Linked DNA regions of Homo sapiens: region 1 is linked to region 2. The links are contacts of gene promoters, found by promoter capture Hi-C in human tissues and cell types (Jung and others, 2019). All regions are on one chromosome and are shown on one strand. Each heading gives the region's core, a stretch centred on a gene start or on the middle of the fragment in contact. The rest is flanking DNA. Distances are from core to core; before and after follow the strand shown. Region 1 overlaps PRDM6 (PR/SET domain 6). Region 2 holds the start of PRDM6 (PR/SET domain 6).

Region 1 (2,700 bases), core at 35-2,534, 44 kb after region 2:
ATTTCCAACCTAGACATATCCCCTTCTGACGTATGTGCCCTTTTCATAACAGCTATCCTACTTTATGTCATACTTAAAAATTTTTATGTAGAGAGTTCCAAACTTCCTTTGTCTATTACTTGAGCCAAACTTCTATATTGTAGTATTTTCAGTGCTAAGAATCCCATGCATTACCACGTGGGGTGTATAAATGTAGAGAAACATCTTAGGCCTTTCAAAATTAGAATTATTCCTAGTTGTAATTAAATTAAAGTTATCAATTTTCACATAAGTAGGATAAACAAATTCCTCTGTTGAAGTAACAGCAAGTTATGTGGGTGGTTGTGTGTGTGTGTGTGTTTCCTCTTTCTAACTTATCAAAGAGAAGTTTTGAAATCTTGGATTTTCTATAAGCGCTTTCTAATGGGTTTCCTTGTTTAGTTTTTCACAAGAGCAGGTATATCATCCCCATATCTCTGGTGAAGCACTCTCCAAGTGTGTTGACATTTCAGGAAGTCTTGAATGTTGCTAAATGCATCTGTGTTTTCTGCTGAGTGGTTGGCCCAGACTCAAAAAAGTGTGCCTACACAAGATAATTTCCAAGTATGATTTCTAACATCATAGAATTGTAGTTGTGCACACATATGTGTATATGCAGGTCAATATCGCTTAGAAGCACCTTCCTTTTTTATTAACATCATTGTTTTGGAAGTTTTTAGTTCATTTAAATTAAAAATTATTGTTTTAATTATTTAAAAAATTATGTCCCAGATATATTAGCTTTTTGATGTTTTTTCCTATTTTGCCAGGATGTAGAAATTATATCTTTACAGTTGTTGAAATTTGATTAACTCTTACATGTTATCTTTAACAAATATTATCATGAAGACTATTCTCTGACAAAAAGTATATTTTGTCCATTTAATTCTCCTAGCTTGCAAAATGTACAGTATTCTAATAGTTATCTCCCTAGTAAAGGCTATGTCAGGAGAGAGGGCACCTTGATATTGATAACACATTTTGTTTTGGAAAGAAGATATAAAGTCAGTGACATACAGTGTGAGAGGCCTGTGAATATGAAAGTAAAAAGGAAATAATTACTTGATTGCAGACATACTGTTAGTTATCTCTGTCATAATCTCCTTTTCCATTTAAAAGAAAGTATTCTTACTATTATAGGTAATGCATTTTGCCAAGCAAAGGGGATAGAAGCAGGAATCTTATATAAATCCTTCCTATGCAAACACGTATGTTTTTCCTACAACTGAAAGAAATAACTACCTTTGATAGTACTAGTAATCTTTTCCTTTTGGAATTGAGTTAGTGAAAGCTTCCATCATAGGAAGGAAGAAAACTTCTAGTAGCTTATTACACATTCCTGAAAAAAAAGACAAAAGAGCAAAACACAACCTAAATATCCTTTTTTATTAAAAGTCAGAATTAGCATTGCAAATACAATCCAGAACTTCAGAGCTGTCACTTAGCATGAACCTTTTGATAAATTGGATCCTGATATTTACAAAATCTATTAAAATACAACCAATAGTGTGTTTGTTTATATGTTGACAAGATGATATACACCCTGAAGGTCAAGGGTGATGTGAACTGTTATGGTGTTCTTGTCAAAGTAGCTGAAAAAAGTGGGGTGGTGGCTATTTAAAGAGTTTTGATGGAATAATGGCTTTACCACAAGTGTGACAGCAAATGCAAGGATCATCTTGAAAAAGTTCAGTTGATTTGAAACAAAAATCTGTGATGTTTATCAATCAAAAAAAAAAAAAGGAAAGTCTCTTCTTCCTTCTGTAGCATGTTAGAAAGTTGGCAGCTCAAATGGAAAAACAAATAGTGAAGTTAAACAGAAAGAAAAGCATTGATTTAACTTCTTGGGTGGTTTATCAAATGCCACACGAACTTTTCATTCTGTCTTGTCATTTATTAATTACCCTCTTTTAATCAAGCCAGTTAAAGATCAGTTTACAAACTTTTGGGTTACTTCTGTGTAAATAGTTCCAACAACTCAAAGTCACTTTGTCCTTTTACTAAATAATCTTCTCTAATTGTTAGCCAAGTTGTACTTCTTTTTCTCTCATAAAAACTCGAAATTTATCTGAAAAATAAATGTGGGATTTAAATAATGCTTTTCCCAGCATGATTTTATTACTACATTTGAGTTCCTTGTTCTCTTTTTCTTAACAATGGTAACGGCCTTAGTTATTAGAGATGTTAGCTCAAAAATGTAACACCGAAAAGAATGTGAATGCATTAAAGGTCTGTTAAGTTTTTCAGTATAGATCTTTATTTTAGTGTTTCAAACTAGCATCTAGAAAAAAACTGAGTAAAAACTGTATATGTTAATTTCAAAGTAATAAGTTTATTTTAATGAAAGGAATTGGTACAGTATGTTAACCAAATATGAATTGATATAAGAAGATAGATTTGGATGTTAGATCCCCCCATCTATTTAGAAAACATTTAAATTGTTATGTATTTTAAATTATAGCACACACAGAAAGCTAATTTTATGGGCATTTTTTAATTTAATCTTAAAAGGAACTGAGCTTTTTAATGTGTCTGTCATAAAATGGTTTAATTAAATGAAATTAAGCCAGAATAACTGTAAACAGACATAAAAATTATTAACCTCATATCTCTACCAATCATTTTCAATATAGGATTTCTGCTAAACAGTGTGTGGTTTAGCTCCCAGGAATTAATTCTTTG
Region 2 (2,700 bases), core at 101-2,600:
AATGAGACCCGGATGAAGTCTGAACAGCACGTTTCCCAGGTTCAGAAAACTTGAGTGGTGGGAAGAGAAAAAGAAACAAGCAGAAATCAGGAAAGAATGGCTATTAATTGCTCAGATTGGCAAGTGCTAAATAAGTTAGGTTGTTTGGAAAAAGATAAATGCCGTTTCTTCTCTTTACGGTATGGCCAGAACCCCGGCGATGGGAAAGTACCTCCTGAGTCGGTCAATTTCACACACCCTGCCTGTGCCCTCTACCATCTACTACCGAAAATGCCAGGAAGAGCTGGGGGGCAAGTGCCTCCTTCGTGGGTGCGAGACTGCATCGAAGGGCTGCCCTGGCACAAAGTCTGGGGAGAGGACATGGTGGAGGTGGGGCTGCACTCCCACCCTGCCCCTCTAACACCAGGTTTTGGGTAGAGAAACCTATGCGTGACCTCCTGCGGCAGCCGCAGGCAGCTGACCGCAAACAGCCTCGCCCGTGTCCCGGAGCAGTTGTGCCACCAGACGTAACACTGGATACTTGTCTCCGGGCCCCAAGAAGGAGAGGGAAAGAGCCCTCCAGAAGACAACCCGAGAAGGGGTCAGCAGAGCGCTGGGTGGAGTGCAGACTCCATTGCAGCCGCCTCCCAGCCCCACGGCCAAGCTTGAGTCCCTCCAGGACCAGCTGCTCTCGGTCTCAGGACCCTCGGTCCTACGCCTCCCTGCACCGACAAGCCTCCCTCCTGGGCTGCAGACAGAGGGTTTCACTGCAGCGCGCAACCCGTCCCGCTCCGCCCCCAACTTTTCTCCCCGGAGGATTTATGTTAGAGGTTGCGTGGCGGGCGAGTGGACTCTGGCACCCAGAAGCACTTCAGGAAAAACTGAGCCGGGCAAAAGCGCAAACCCGGTCCTGGCGGCGCGGGCTTGCTCCAGCGCGGACACCACAGCGTGTGCGGAGATGCATTCCCGTTGCCGCATTTCCACTGCTTTCAAGATCAGGGCACTGAGCTGGGACCCAGAAAAGACATATCATGGGCAGAAAGAGACAACAGGCTAGCGGCAGACGTCACGCCAAAAAAACAGGGGATGGGAGGGCGGAGGAGTTTGTGCGGGAAAGGCGCTCTGGCGATGTGGGTCGGGCCGAATTAGAACTTCCTTCTTCCCTCTCCCCTCCCCTTCTTCTGGCCTGCCTCCCCTCCCCCCTCCGTTCTCTCTCTCTCTCTCTCTCTCTCTCTCTCTCTCTCTCTCTCTCTCTCTCACACACACACACACACACACACACACACACACACACACACACACACACACACACACACACACACTCACTCTATTTTGTGCTGTCGTAAAACCCACGTGTCCAGCCGGGAAGCTGCCAGAGCGTGGAACCAAGGAGCCAGGACGCGGCAGCGGCCAAGCGCAGCAGCCCACGGCGGTTGAGTCGGGCGCCCAGGTCCGTCCGCACTCTCGCGCCCTCCGCGGGCCTCCCAATTTTCTCGCTTGCAGGTCGGGAGGTTTCCGGGCGGCACAATCTCTAGGACTCTCCTCCCGCGCTGCTCAGGGGCATGTAGCGCACGCAGGGCGCACACTCTCGCGCACCCGCACGCTCACCGAGACACCCGCACGCACCCACCGGCAGCACCGAGTTTTCAGGTAAGGTGAGGCTGGTCTGGGACTTAAGAGTCTAGGGCTTGGTAGATAGGAAGGTTGGTGGTCCTAGGTTGGGGGCGGGCGGCGAGACTGTTCTGCCTCCTGGCGCCTGAGGCCAACGCGGCTCGGGCGCTGCGCCACGCCGGCTCGGGTCGGCTCCGGGCGCTGGCTGAGGGCGGGGGCTGCGTCCTGCAGCCGAGTTCTACGGGGCAGCGCCCTCCTGTCGGGCCCCAGCATTGCTGGATGGGAGCTGGACGCTGCGATCGGGGAGGCAGAGCAGGGTGCACACAGCTCCCTCTGTGCGGCGCCGCAGCTTCGGAGTAAACTTTGCGCCCAAGCGGAGTTGGGAAGAGGGAGCCGCGGAACCGGGCGGCCGCCGGCTGAACCACCGGCTCGGGCACTTTCTCCAGGGTCCCAGTGGCCCTCTTCCCGGCCCCTTTCGCCCAGCTCACGCGCCCCCTCTTCCCTGCCCTCTGCCCCCAGTTCGAGGCGCCGGACATGCTGAAGCCCGGAGACCCCGGCGGTTCGGCCTTCCTCAAAGTGGACCCAGCCTACCTGCAGCACTGGCAGCAACTCTTCCCTCACGGAGGCGCAGGCCCGCTCAAGGGCAGCGGCGCCGCGGGTCTCCTGAGCGCGCCGCAGCCTCTTCAGCCGCCGCCGCCGCCCCCGCCCCCGGAGCGCGCTGAGCCTCCGCCGGACAGCCTGCGCCCGCGGCCCGCCTCTCTCTCCTCCGCCTCGTCCACGCCGGCTTCCTCTTCCACCTCCGCCTCCTCCGCCTCCTCCTGCGCTGCTGCGGCCGCTGCCGCCGCGCTGGCTGGTCTCTCGGCCCTGCCGGTGTCGCAGCTGCCGGTGTTCGCGCCTCTAGCCGCCGCTGCCGTCGCCGCCGAGCCGCTGCCCCCCAAGGAACTGTGCCTCGGCGCCACCTCCGGCCCCGGGCCCGTCAAGTGCGGTGGTGGTGGCGGCGGCGGCGGGGAGGGTCGCGGCGCCCCGCGCTTCCGCTGCAGCGCAGAGGAGCTGGACTATTACCTGTATGGCCAGCAGCGCATGGAGATCATCCCGCTCAACCAGCACACC

The links. Contacts are between HindIII fragments. The study calls those that stand out against the background at their distance.
Region 1: a contact is called between a fragment that was not itself captured here and the fragment with the promoter of PRDM6 in region 2, in 3 of the 25 tissues and cell types used here (aorta, ovary and pancreas).

The regions. Positions count from the first base shown.
Region 1 is chr5:123,132,083-123,134,782 of GRCh38, forward strand. The region is part of intron 3 of PRDM6 (PR/SET domain 6); the gene reads left to right. Among named protein-coding and RNA genes, the nearest start is that of PRDM6-AS1, 43 kb to the left of the region's middle. The HindIII fragment of the contact is 9,966 bases long and covers 1-2,700 here.
Region 2 is chr5:123,087,891-123,090,590 of GRCh38, forward strand. It overlaps PRDM6 (PR/SET domain 6), which reads left to right and starts at 1,351. Exons shown (of 8, transcript NM_001136239.4): 1 at 1,351-1,629; 2 at 2,110-2,700. The coding sequence starts at 2,125. PRDM6-AS1 (PRDM6 antisense RNA 1) reads right to left here and starts at 2,426. Exons shown (of 2, transcript NR_146771.1): 1 at 2,182-2,426; 2 at 1-49. RefSeq lists enhancers at 1-545, 546-1,090. The HindIII fragment of the contact is 7,641 bases long and covers 1-2,700 here.